Linked DNA regions of Homo sapiens: region 1 is linked to region 2. Evidence: promoter capture Hi-C in human tissues and cell types (Jung and others, 2019). All regions are on one chromosome and are shown on one strand. Each heading gives the region's core, a stretch centred on a gene start or on the middle of the fragment in contact. The rest is flanking DNA. Distances are from core to core; before and after follow the strand shown.

Region 1 (6,318 bases), core at 638-3,137, 170 kb after region 2:
CATTTCTGTGTACCCTACAATTGCAATTATGCAAAAATACACATCTATAAGGACAAAGACAAAAATAGCAAAAATGAGAATTATTATATGAAATACTGGGATTATGTGTTCTTTTTTTAGGTTCCAAAATTTCTATACCATTGTTATATAGTCTTTATAAACAAAAAACTTAAAACACCTTTTGATTATGATTCACTACTATATTCACTGAGTGCCTAATGCATAGTAGGCTCTTGAAAATCTTTCCATAAATGAATGAGTGAATATCTTTTTATCATATAACTGTGCTTCAGGGTTAAAAATGCTGTAAACATGCCACTGAATCCTTCTAACTCCCTGTGAAACAGGTAAGGCAAGGCATTATTTTATCTGAGATGGAGAGAATGAGGCATACAGAAGTTGTGACTTGCCCCAAGCCACACACGGTTAGTGACCAGTCAGAACTAGAGCCTAGGTGTGTACTCTGCGTGTTGTCAGCTCAGCTGTTCTCACACTAATGACAACACATGACTAGAAAAGCTTCCAGTAACCCGCGGCCTCACTGGCATTGCCAAGGGAAGAAGGGCATTCATTGTTAAAAGAGTGGAAACTAAGGTCCCCAGCCCTTCTTGTGTCTGCCTTTCCAGGAATGTTTCGCTGGCATAATCAGAATGGCCTGGGATAGAGACCACTCATGGTGCAGCCTGGTGGAAAGAGTCAAAAACCCAAATGCTTTCTTGCATGATAATCCCAAGGAAGGTGAACATTTCCATTGGGTATGTTCGTCTACAACGTTTCTGTGCATGAAGTGGTCAACAGAAATGTACTCTTACCCCAATCAAATGTATCCTTGAAGGGAATTCCCCTTCCGTCACCCGTACGGCCTCATCAAACACGTTGGCGTTGGTCCGGGACAACAAGGCCACTTGCCCCTTTGCGTCACCTCTAATGCCACCTTTAGGGAGAGAGCACAAACTCTATGGCAAATTGAAATAAAGAGGAAAACTTTTGTAACACAAAAGAGAAGAGTAACTAAAAGCCTTACTCTGATGGTTTCCTCCAACCAAAGTCTTTTTCCTGACTCTCTTGCAAACATCCAAGATAGTAGCTCCCACATAAGCTATTTCCACACCAAACCGAAAACTCTGAAAACAACAAGACAGAGGGAGTCAGCAGCCCGCCCTGTGGTGTGTCCGTGCATTTCCATCACTGCTGCCACAGCCTGGCCGGGCCAGACCCTACAAGTTGTTCCTGACCCCCCGCATGGAAAGCGAACTTCACAGGCTCACTTTCAAGGTCCTTCACAACTCAGCAGTCTTTATTTTCCATTATTCTCAACACCAATAGTAAATTTTTCTTTTAAGCAAATCTACCCTTTTCTCCAAATCAAATCTAGTGAAGTCTAAATCATACAAAAGATGAAGATCGGGTAAGGAGGGCTTCTCCCCTTGCCTTTGAGATCCCTCTCCACACTACCTTTAAAACTACTGCCCTGCACCAACCAGCCATGGCAGAAGCACTAGCACCTGCACATTGTCCGTGCTGCCCTGCCTCAGCCCACGCGGTTTTCTGTCTGACTTTCATCCACCAAAGTCACTTCCTAACCTTCAAAACTCAGCCCAAGACCCTGCTTCCTTCGCCCCTCCAGCTGGCAAGATATCATTCTTCCCTACACTCGGGGTGTGTACAGCCTTTTTCCATGCACACACAACTTCATGTGCTTTGGTGAATAGCAGTAACAGTCAAACGAAAACTAGACTTTAAACAAACACTACTTTGTTGCTATAAAACTACTCTGAGTGAACCATAACCGAAATTATAACATAAATATCCATGAGTTCATATTAAGATAGATAAATGATTGAATATTTAAATAGATGGGAGAGAAAAAACAAATCTCCTTTACAGAAGAATTCCAAATAATTTGGGAAGATTCTCCAACACTTACTCCTTGAGTGTGGACTGCATATAGGGACTTCCTTCCAAAGCATCCAGTAAGGAAAGGATGAAAAAAAGTGGAACTCTACAGTGAAGAAACCTGACAAACACTACATCAGCCAGGTGGTCAAGGTCAACATCAAGTCATGAGCCATGGTGACAGTATGCACCTCAACACCATGTGATGAAAATGGCGCTTCACCTCTGTGGTCTTCCTCCCAGAACCCAGGACTCTAGCCTAACCATGAGAAAAGACATTAGACAAATCCCAGCACAGGGGCAGCCTACAAATGCCTGACTGGAACTTCTGGAAAATGTGAAGGTCACATCAGAAATAGGGAAAGTCTGAGCAACTGTCACAGCCAAGAAGAGCCTCATGACACATGGTTACATGTAATGTGGGATCCTGGATGGGCTCCTGAAGTCACAAAAGACATTATTTCAAAACTAAGGAAATGCAAATGAACCATGGACTTCAGTCCATAATAATGTATCAATGTTGGTTCATTATCGTGACAAGTGTTCCACATTAATATAAGACGATAAGATGTTAGTAATGGGAAACTGAGTACAGGATATATGGGAACTCTCCTCTCGATTTTTCTGTAAATCTGAAACTGTTCTAAAAAAATACCATCTATTAAAAGAACAAATCACCTCTGCAGTGACGCTACCCTAAATCACCACAGCAGTAGGAGCTCAAGGGAAGAGTCACAGAGGCGTCTACGGAACTTTCAATAACATCACAAAACACAGCACAGTTGATACTTTCATCCAAGTGAGACATCTCTTCTAATCAGAAATAAGTTTCTTAAAAGCAGTGGTTCTCGAACTGCTGGTCTCAGGATGCTTCACACTTAAAAATCACACTTAAAAAGCCTCCAAAGAGCTTTTATTTACATGAGCTCTATCTATCTATATTTACCATATTATAAATTTTAATTCATTTAAAAATAACTATTAAAAACTATTTTTTTTTAAGACAGAGTCTCATTCTGTCACCCAGGCTGGAGTACAATGGTGCGACCTCGGCTCACTGCAACCTCTGCCTCCTGGGTTCAAGTGATTCTCCTGCCTCAGCCTCCTGAGTAGCTGACACTACAGGCGGGAGCCACCACACCTGGCTAATTTTTGTATTTTTAATAGAGACAGGGTTTTACCATGTTGGCCAGGCTGGTCTTGAACTCCTGACCTCAAGTGATCTGTCCTTCTTGGCCTCCCAAAATGCTGGGATTACAGGCATGAGCCACCATGCCCAGCCAAAAGCCTCTTATATGATGACATAAAGAACATATTTTTTGAAACATATTTCCGAGAACAAAAAAAAATGCAGCAAGAAGAGTGGCACCATGTTCCATTTTTGCAAATCTCTTCAATGCCTGGCATAACAGAAGACTGCTGGCTTCCTGTGTTCACATCTGCATTGCCTGCTGAGATATACTGTCTTGGCTGACACACATGAAGAAAATTCAACCTCACACAGACATGTGATTGGAAAGGAAGGAGCGCATAATAAACTTTTCGCATAATCAAGGACACTGTGAGTTGTCACATTCATTATGGGAGAGTTTGCCAACATTTTAATTTCACTTGAAAGCAAAGATGTTACTTTTGACAACAAACACTGTCAGTTATTTTCCCTGAAGTCGCAGCTTGTTTCACTTGTCTTTGAAAAAGTGCCAAATACACAAGTCTGAACAACCAGCGCTGGTCTAACAACTGTTCTAAGCACAAATGTACAAGGCGGCAGCAGCCATCGGTTCACAGTTCAGCCGCAGCAGCTCTTCCTCAGACGACCGCTGTGCACACACCTCTTATGAAAACAGTGTGACTTGGCAGACCCCTGAGAACCACACTTTGAGAACCATGGCTTAGAAGCAAGGATTTGCTAGATCTGGTGAGCCTGGCATACCACCTTTCACAGGGCCTGGCACGTAAGACATTGGGAGAGAGATGCAATGCCTCCCATGCAGAGTGCGCACTTACCTGCGTGAGATAGAAGACGTGGGTGTGGGGCACTGTGAACAGGGCGTTGACCGCACCCCGGAAGGTATAGATCTGCTGGTGCGGGTCCCCTACAAAGATTTTCCCACATGGCTGAGACAGAACTATGTTCATGATAGCTGTAACCAACGAGAGGAAAAGTGAGAAACCTTGAGGCCTCCACCCCAGGCAGCAAAAAGAAAAGGACAAAAACACTTCCACGAAGCTAAGCCAGGGCACACTGGACCTCACGGTCGCCTTTTCCTGTAGGACAGGCACACTCCATCAAAAGCAGCCATTTTATAATGGACAAAAGAAACAGTTTCTGGTGCTAGGAATGCAGATTATGTTTCGCCTTGGATGAATTGTTGGAATATAAGAAAACAACACAGGCAAATCTAAAATGAGGCAGTGTCTTCTCTAATATTATAGCACTCAAAATTGACCTACAAAGTCAGACGGATAACACTGTCTGTTCTCTCCTAGCCACTTGAGAAGTAGACAACACAAGCTTTTCCCTGTCAATGGACGATCTCTTCCCACAGAGCATGAGTCTAGGTCCCTGTCGTCTGCTGGTCTACAACTTGGTCAACATGTTAAGAACAACCTAAGCAAAACCTATGGTGACAGAGAAATCTGCTTGGGTGAGGGGAAGGGGCAGCTTGAAATCCTAAGGTAAGTATGAAGATCCTCTTCTTTATCACAAATAATAATAATCAACTTAGTTCACACAGGTGTCCTCTTACATAATCATGGCGCTGTTTCTACGTATTTGACACTACTGATGTCCTGAACAGTGTATCACCTGGTGTGCAGTCCTGGGCCTCATCCACAAAGATGGCGTCAAAAGAGGCCAGCGAAGGCTTGCTCAGCTGCCAGAGTTTCAAGTAGCCTAAAATAAGGAGAGACGCAGGAGTTGTAACGCCAGGAAGGCAGTCCCATTGGCCAGTCCCCGCCATTCGGCAGCCGCCTACCGTCATGAGTCATCTGGTGCGCCTCTTCTGTGCACTCCCCCAGCTTCCGCATGTTATCCCAGAGGCGGCTCGCTTCAAGGACACCATTCTAGGAAGTAAAGCATATGGTAACCCAGAGTTTGAGACCCTGGCAAAGGCAGCACCCTGCGGTCACACTGTCAACTCCCATACAGCAGTGGAGCCAGGGCATCCTCACAGAAGGGGGACCGCAGACACCACCCTAACCTCCTGGGTCTCCTCAACAGCCTCTCCACGCCAGAGGGTCTCCAGTGCTGAGACAGGAAGCAGCCGGGCCGTGCCATGCCCGTGACAGGACAGAGATCATAACAGTTAGGTGAACCAGAAAAGGCCAAATTGTTCTTCTAGATTTATGACTGATGCTTAATTCACAAAAACAATGGCACATGATTGAAAAGACTTGATGAAAAAAAGAAACAGACTTTCCCACTAGCAAAATCTATTCCATAGAACCAATAACCCAAGAAAATCAGGAGAGATTCCAGCCTTCAGTTAAGATCAGTTTTGAGGTCCAGGAGCCCCAGTGACAAGCTCTTATAAACTGAGGCGGGTCGTTCCATGTCTGCCTTCTCTGTTAAATGGGAGGACTATTCCGAGGCTTAAGTGAGATGGTCACCAGTGTCCTTCACAGGAGAAAATACCCAACAATTCACAGCCATCACCATGGGCCTACAGCCTCACCCTCCCACCTTCAACCTCCTATGACCAGGTCTGAAGAAATGAAAGAAGAAATAATGCTGTCCCACACTCCCTGTTTGCCCATCCTCAGATCCCTAACACTTCCCGTTCCCCCATCCTCAGATCCCTAACACTTCCCCTGATCCCCCATCCTCAGACCCCTAACACTTCCCATTTCCCCATCCTCAGATCCCTAACACTTCCCGTTTCCCCATCCTCAGACCCCTAACACTTCCCCTGTTTCCCCATCCTCAGACCCCTAACACTTCCCCTGTTTCCCCATCCTCAGATCCCTAACACTTCCCCTGTTCCCCCATCCTCAGATCCCTAACACTTCAGACACTTAGACACTCACCAGTTTTTCACTCTGCTCAACCATGACTCTCTGTCCTTGGCTGTTCTTACACCAAATAGGCACGTGATCAATGGTCAGCTCTTCGTCAGCCGAGGCAAAGAAGTTTTCTAGAGTCTTACACACAAGCTTGGCTCTTATGAATCCACCCTTCCCTTCAGCAAGGACGGAGTTGACCATGAAGGGTGTTAACTTGAAGAGATTCAACTTCTTCTTTGACTGGTACCTGCAATACCCATCCCAAATGAACAGCACGTGGCTCTCCTGGCTTGGTGCTATTGAACGTCCCCTCCATTCTCTCTAATGTCACCAGGAGGTAGCTTCAAGTGCCACACACAGGCGAGTGTTAATGTTTTAAAGCGAAAAAGTTCTGCATGGTCCATGTCTGACTGGAAA
Region 2 (6,649 bases), core at 1,487-3,986:
GCAGTGTAAGCCCCCTAAAGGCAGGGGTGTTTCTTATGTTCAGCTTTGTATCTCTAGCTCAGCACCATGCTTGAACATTGTTAAGTGGCTCTATTAATATTTTTTAAATGTGTTAGTGAATGGATGAAAAATGTTAGTGCACCTATTTAAATCACATTATTATGAAACAGTGAGATCTGCAGATCTGCTTTTTAAGCACATAACTTATGATAAGTAGGATAAAATTTAAATTGCAAACCATAATTAAGGAGAAAAAAACTACCACCACCACACAACCAATAACGAGTCAAGGTCTGAGTTCTGAGCACCTAAAGAGGCAGGCTTGTTAGCAAGAAATATTTCTATCACTAAACAGATATTCATGCATCATAAAACAAAGCATGCCTCTTTGAAGCCTAAAGAATATGGCAAGACCGGGCCCAGTGGCTCACGCCTGTAATCCCAGCACTTTGGGAGGCCGAGGCAGGAGGATCACTTGAGATCAGGAGTTCGAGACCAGCCTGGCCAACATGGTGAAACCCCGTCCCTACTGAAAATACAAAAATTGGCCGAGCATGGTTGCGAGCGCCTGTAATTCCAGCTACTCAGGAGGTTGAGGCCAGAGAACCATTTGAACCTGGGAAGTGGAGGTTGCAGTGAGCCGACTTACACCGCTGCACTCCAGCCTGGACTATAGAGTGAGACTCTGTCTCAGGAGAAAAAAATATATGTATATAAATATATATATAAAAATATATAAATATATATAAATATATAAATATTTATATATTTATATACATATATATGGCAAATATACCCAGAAAGGAACAGGAGGGGTGGTGCACTTTGGTGTCCGCAAAAAATACAGCTTAAAAAGCATCTACCTCAAGTATAAGATCTACCATGACTTTCTAAAGAATTAAAAAAAAATTTTTCCCATACCTCCATCTGACGCCCTTGTCAGTTTAATCTTTCCATTCAATCCCACCCTCTGGCTGTTACCAAAATGCCATAGGCTAGTATTGCAAACACAGTCCACTACAGTCACCTGTAATTTAGGCGAATAACAGAACTTCCTTCACTATTGACTATTATGAAAGGTTTGAGAGATGACTAGCCTGGGATCATCTGTTCCCTGCTGGGAGGAGGTCTGAAAAATTCATAGGCAGGGGAGAATGGGAAGGTAAGTTAAAACAAACCAGGTAAAAAGAAATCCACTTTAAATAAAGCTGCATTTGGAAGTGTACAACAATTCTCTCAAGAGCCTCCAGAAAGGCTGCCTTTGGTTCCGCAGAGCTCCACAACCGCACAACCTGCTCTGTTATAAACTGGACAGCACGCAGCACCTTGCTTAACTAACTCTAAAAATAAAGCCCTCTCGTTTAGCTCACTAAACTGTTACCCCATATTCCCTAAAAGCTGTCATTACGATCAAAATGTCTGCAGCCTTTACAACTAAAAATGTGGAAACTTGTGTTGCATCCTTTTAAAAACTCCATCTGCTGCGGGGAGCCAGTGCACATCTACCCATCTATTTGAGTATATGCGAATCTTGCCCTTATCTAGAATATCCTATTTCCCATCCATATGCCTGGCTCTAGCAAAATAAGGACCCTCAATGGCGCTTCTTTACTGCTTCTCAAGAAACCTCCATGTTCTGACCTGACTACTCCTGGAAACACAGCAGCCCCTCCTCAAACCTTTCTTTCTGCCTAACCTGCAGCTTCCAGAACGCACTACGGGGCTTCGCTTCTGCTACTTTCGCACTTACTTCCTCCGCCGGCAGCCTTTTTCCCACCTCTCACATCTAACAACGTACCTTCAAGACTCAACATAAGCATGACCTCCTCTCTCAAGAGAGGTCCTTCCAGACCCCACTTGCGTTTCTCAAATCAACCCGGGCCTGGGTTTTCACGCCTGCTTTCCCAGAAACCAAACTCCTGCAAGCAGGGGCAGAACCTCATTCCACCTGCATTCTCCGATCATTACACATTCTCGGGGCAAGAGGCGAAGCTCAAAGACTGCCTGGGGTCGGACGTGAGCGCTGAAACACCGCTCAAACTGCACGAGCCGAGGCGACGCCGGGGTTAGGGCTGCATTCCTGTCCCGGGCAGCTCCGGAGTCTGAGAAACGCCAACGTCTGCACTCCCAGTTCTGAGACCCCGGGAGGAACCGGCTCCGAGCCCCAGAGAGGGGCAACCGTGCAGGGCCAGGGGGGACACGCTACGGGCTACTCGGTTCTGGTGACCAGACAATTTCGTCAGGATGCGGTGCACGAGACGGAGAAGAAACGCTCTTCAGCACCAAACAGCCCGAGGCAGACATGAGGAGGAGGAGGAGGAAGGGAAGAGGGAGAAGGTCAGGGCCAGGGTCACCAGAGGCGGCGGCGGGCGGAGGGTACCGGGCCGCAGCCGCGTGGAGAGACCAGCGCCCGCCGCGGGGACTGAGACCCTCGGAGGCTCCGGCTGCGCTGGCCCGGCCTCCGCCCCTCGCGACGGGCCTAAAGCCGCGGGCTTGCGTCTAGCGCCTCCCGGGAAGGCGCGCCCGCCTCAGGTCCCGCCAGGCCACCCACCCGGGGCCGCCGGGGCGCCACTTACCCGGCCCGCCCGGCCGACTCTGCCCATGAGCCGCGCCGGCGGCAGAGCGGAGCCGGGCGGCACTCCGCGGAAACCCGCCAGCGGCAGGAGGCCTCGGCGGCGCCCACCCTTCGCTGAGTCCTCAGGGCGCTCGGCGGCGCGGGGTCAGGGAGCGCGGGCTGCCGGGAGAGCGCGCCCGCGCCTGCGCCCCGCCTGCGCCTGCGCCTGCTTCGGCCTCTGCGCCTGCGCCGAGGGCGCCTTGCCGCACTGCCCCCTGCCCGCGGGAGGACCGCACTGCACGCTCCCCTCCGCCGGCGTCTTCTTACCATCAAGAGGTGTCGCCCTGGCGCACATTTTCGAAATTCCACAAGGCTTGGGGAGCGCGGCAGCGCCCCCAGATGGTGAGGAGGAGAAGTGGTCCGAGGCCGGGCTTTCTGATAGGGGAGGTGGGGGAAGTCCCTCCAGGCCCCTCGATCTCATTCATTCAAAGCCACTCCTATATAAGCAAAAAGTTGAAAATAAGTCTGCATAGGCCAGATGCTGCAAAAGGATGGCAAGGAGCACGAGGTTAAGCGTAAGATTATGGAAACAGATGCCGCGATTAGGGGTACAGAAAAGAATGTCAATGCTATAAAGCCTCGGTCTTTAAAAACGACGTCGCTGACAGAAGCAGGGAGGGAAAGGGAAAGTGGGACTTCGGGTAAATATGATTTTTACATCTGTAATTAATTGGGTGTCAAATAGAGTTCAAGCCGATAAATCAAATAGTAGAGATTTAAGCAGACGTCTTAGTCCGAAGGAGTATACCAAGAAAGTTACTATAATCCATTAAAATCCAGTCATTAAGAAAACGGGAAAAGGGGGAAAAAAGAAATACAGTGGAGAGACAAAAGACAATCTAAAGAAATAGAGGATTAAGGACGTCATGGGATGGTATGATTCTGAGGGTAACCCAGAACAAAACTACAAAGCTTTCAAATAATCCACACATACATGCACCCACACATACATGCATGCACACACACACACACACACACAAAACCACAGCAAAAAAAATATATATATAGGGAAATATTTTAAAAAGTTACAAAACAGAAAGCGTAACCAAACTATATGACAGAACAAGACCAAATGTCTCACAAGAAGAAATATAGACCTAAGCTTACCTACTAAAAAACTACAATCTCAGATAGGAGCACAAACCATCATGCAACTCAGTGTTGTATACAAGAAAGTGCTAACGTTATTCTGAGTTTGAAAATACAAGATTGGAAAAGATATACCAGGAATATGCAAAAAAATTAAAAAAATCAGGAATCACAAACCGCTTACTACAAAGTTGATTTCAGGGCAAAAAGCATTAAGTAAGATTAAGAAGGACATTTTATAATCTTGAGGAGCACAATTCACAATCAAGAAAAAAATAGGAAAAATAGGAAAATCTTTGCACCAAATCACATAATCTCATTATTCATAGCAAACACTGTAGGAGTGAGTGAATAGACAGAAATAATTGGCACACTCCTTGCCAGACGAAGAGTACAAAAAGTAAATGGGGATTGAGAAGACCTAAAAATACAATTCCTATGATAGATCTAATATATCAAACACTGTCCCCTAAATAGACATTACATCTTTTCCAGTGTCTAAGGAATATTCACAACAATTAGTCATATTTTAAACCACAGAGAAAAATCTTAACATAGTCCAATAAGTAGAATCATATCGGTAATATTATCTGCAGCAATTCAATAAAAGTAGAAATTAATGAAAAAACAGAAAATAAAACATGCCTACCCCTTGAAAATTTTTAAATGCTTAAATAACACTTGGACTAAAAAGGAAAACAAAATCAAAATAACATAATATCTAGAAAAGTATGAAAATGACATACTCATGGGATTTAGCTCAGAGAGTACTAAGAGGAAAATTCATGGTTTTAAGTTTTTGTATCAATTAAAAACTTGGAAAAAGCTAAATGAATTAAGCACTTGTGCAAGAAACTGGAAATAAAATAAAAATGTGAGAAGCAGAAGGACGTACTTGGTCAATAAAAGAAGCAGAAAGTAATAGCGTGTAAACAGAAAAAGGAAGAAGGGCAAAGATAGAAGGTGTCTAGACTGGGTCTCTCCCCACCCCGTGATCAAAGCACCGGTGGGGGTGCAAAAGCCCTGATTAGGAGGTCCAGAGCTGCAGGACTTCCTCCAGGTTGAACCTGCTGTCTACCTGTACTCCCTAATCTGCTTGGCGTCTCCACTCTGCAGTCTGAGACCACTCCTTCCTCCCTTTTTGGTTGAAAATTTGTGCCTTTGTTCCCAAATCATTCCATCATACATACACAAGTAACTTTTTGGTTTACAGACCATAGATGCAATCACATCCATTGTTTAGGAATTTTCTAGTTTAACTTCCAGGAGGAAAACTGCCTTACTTCATTTCCTAGTACGTGAGCAGTCTCATGCTTGCCTCCATTTCCTGTCAATAGTAACAAATATCATCTTTATTTTATGCACCGAGAATCCAAAGCTTAACCCAATGGGGGAACAGAACCCAGGCCATGCAACTATCAGAAAGCGCACACAAAACGGTGGAGCTTTAGAAGAGGGACAAGACAGACGCGCTGGAGCGCCCCCTCGGGGCTGCAGAGCAAACATCGGTAGTGACTCCTGCGTAAACAAGTCGTGTGATCTGCTCCAGCTGTGCTCAGCGCCTGGCAGGAGGCTGGCAGGCAGCAGATGGTAGAATTCATCGGAAACTGGGAATTAGCAGGGCAGATGTTCCAGGAAGAAAGAAGATAAGGGCGGTGTTTGGGCTGGCAGGAAAGGCTGGGTGAAATGCTACAGTATGCAGCATGGATGGAACCGGGGGACCCCGAAACAGGAAAAGAAAGGGGTGTGGGCCCTGGAGGGAAGACAAGCTAGTTAAGACAATTTGATCAGATTATAATTTGATCAAAAACAAGTATTCCCAAGGATTCTGTGTGTAGGGATGCTTTCGGTGCACCGTGGAGAATGATTTTTGTCTCCTTTTTTGTATCTTTTTTTTTTTTTTTTTTTTTGAGACGGAGTCTTGCTCTTGTCACCCAGGCTGGAGTGCAATGGAGTAATCTCAGCTCACTGCAACCTCCGCCTCCCGGGTTCAAGCGATTCTCCTGCCTCAGCTTCCTAAGTAGCTGGGATTACAGGTGCCCGCCACCATGCCCGGCTACTTTTTGTATTTTTAGTAGAGACGGGGTTTCACCATGTTGGCCAGGCTGGTCTCGAACTCCTGACCTCCGGTGATCCGCCCACCTCGGCCTCCCAAAGTGCTGGGATTACAGGCATGTATATCTCTAAGCAGCTTCGGCCATTTCAGAAATCTTTCCTTCCTTCCTTCCTTCCTTCCTTCCTTCTTTCCTTCTTTCCTTCTTTCCTTCTTTCCTTCTTTCCTTCTTTCCTTCTTTCCTTCTTTCTTTCTTTCTTTCTTTCTTTCTTTCTTTCTTTCTTTCTTTCTTTTTCTTTCGATGGAGTCTCTCTCTTGTTGCCCAGGCTGGAGTGCGATGGTATGATCTGGGCTCACTGCAACCTCCACCTCCTGGGTTCGAGCAATTCTCCTGCCTCAACCTCCTGAGTAGGTGGGATTACAGACGCCTGCCACCACGCCCTGCTAATTTTTGTAGTTTTGGTAGAGATGATATTTCACCATGTTGGCCAGGCTGGTCTCAAACTCCTGACCTCAAGTGATCCACCCGCCTTGGCCTCCCAAAGTGCTGGGATTACAGGTGTGAGCCACCATGCCCGGCCCATCTCACAGATTTTTTAAAGTTTTTTCACTTTTTTTGTCTTTCTAAATCATTCTCTACAGTTATTCCTGCTCTGTAAGGTTTCTAATAGTAAAAATATAGGAACAAACTAGCGAACAATAACAACTTAGGGAAATTCAATTATGTTGAGAGACAAATAATTTACATGGAAGGATCCCATTTTTGTTTTAAAAATTTATAAATATATACAAAGTATCTATAAGGTATTTGCCAATATGGCTGGCTCCAGATAGGGATTATCAGGATTCTTTATTTAAATTTTTTTGCTTGTTTGCCTTTTTTATCTCTGAGT

What was found. The method cuts DNA at HindIII sites, captures the fragments that hold promoters and counts their contacts. A contact is called where the count stands out against the background at its distance.
Region 1: a fragment that was not itself captured here is called in contact with the fragment with the promoter of RBM17 in region 2 in 3 of the 25 tissues and cell types used here (IMR-90 fibroblasts, liver and mesendoderm cells).

The regions. Positions count from the first base shown.
Region 1 is chr10:5,916,064-5,922,381 of GRCh38, reverse strand. FBH1 (F-box DNA helicase 1) reads right to left here. Exons shown (of 21, transcript NM_178150.3): 10 at 5,926-6,148; 11 at 4,875-4,962; 12 at 4,706-4,792; 13 at 3,904-4,040; 14 at 1,025-1,124; 15 at 813-934. Among named protein-coding and RNA genes, the nearest start is that of FBH1, 29 kb to the right of the region's middle. RefSeq lists a silencer at 3,310-3,510 and an enhancer at 4,292-5,491. The HindIII fragment of the contact is 6,688 bases long and covers 1-5,231 here.
Region 2 is chr10:6,085,121-6,091,769 of GRCh38, reverse strand. RBM17 (RNA binding motif protein 17) reads right to left here and starts at 2,736. Exons shown (of 12, transcript NM_032905.5): 1 at 2,577-2,736. RefSeq lists silencers at 2,005-2,064, 2,335-2,424, 2,435-2,874 and enhancers at 1,240-2,078, 3,035-3,084. The HindIII fragment of the contact is 7,744 bases long and covers 1-4,399 here.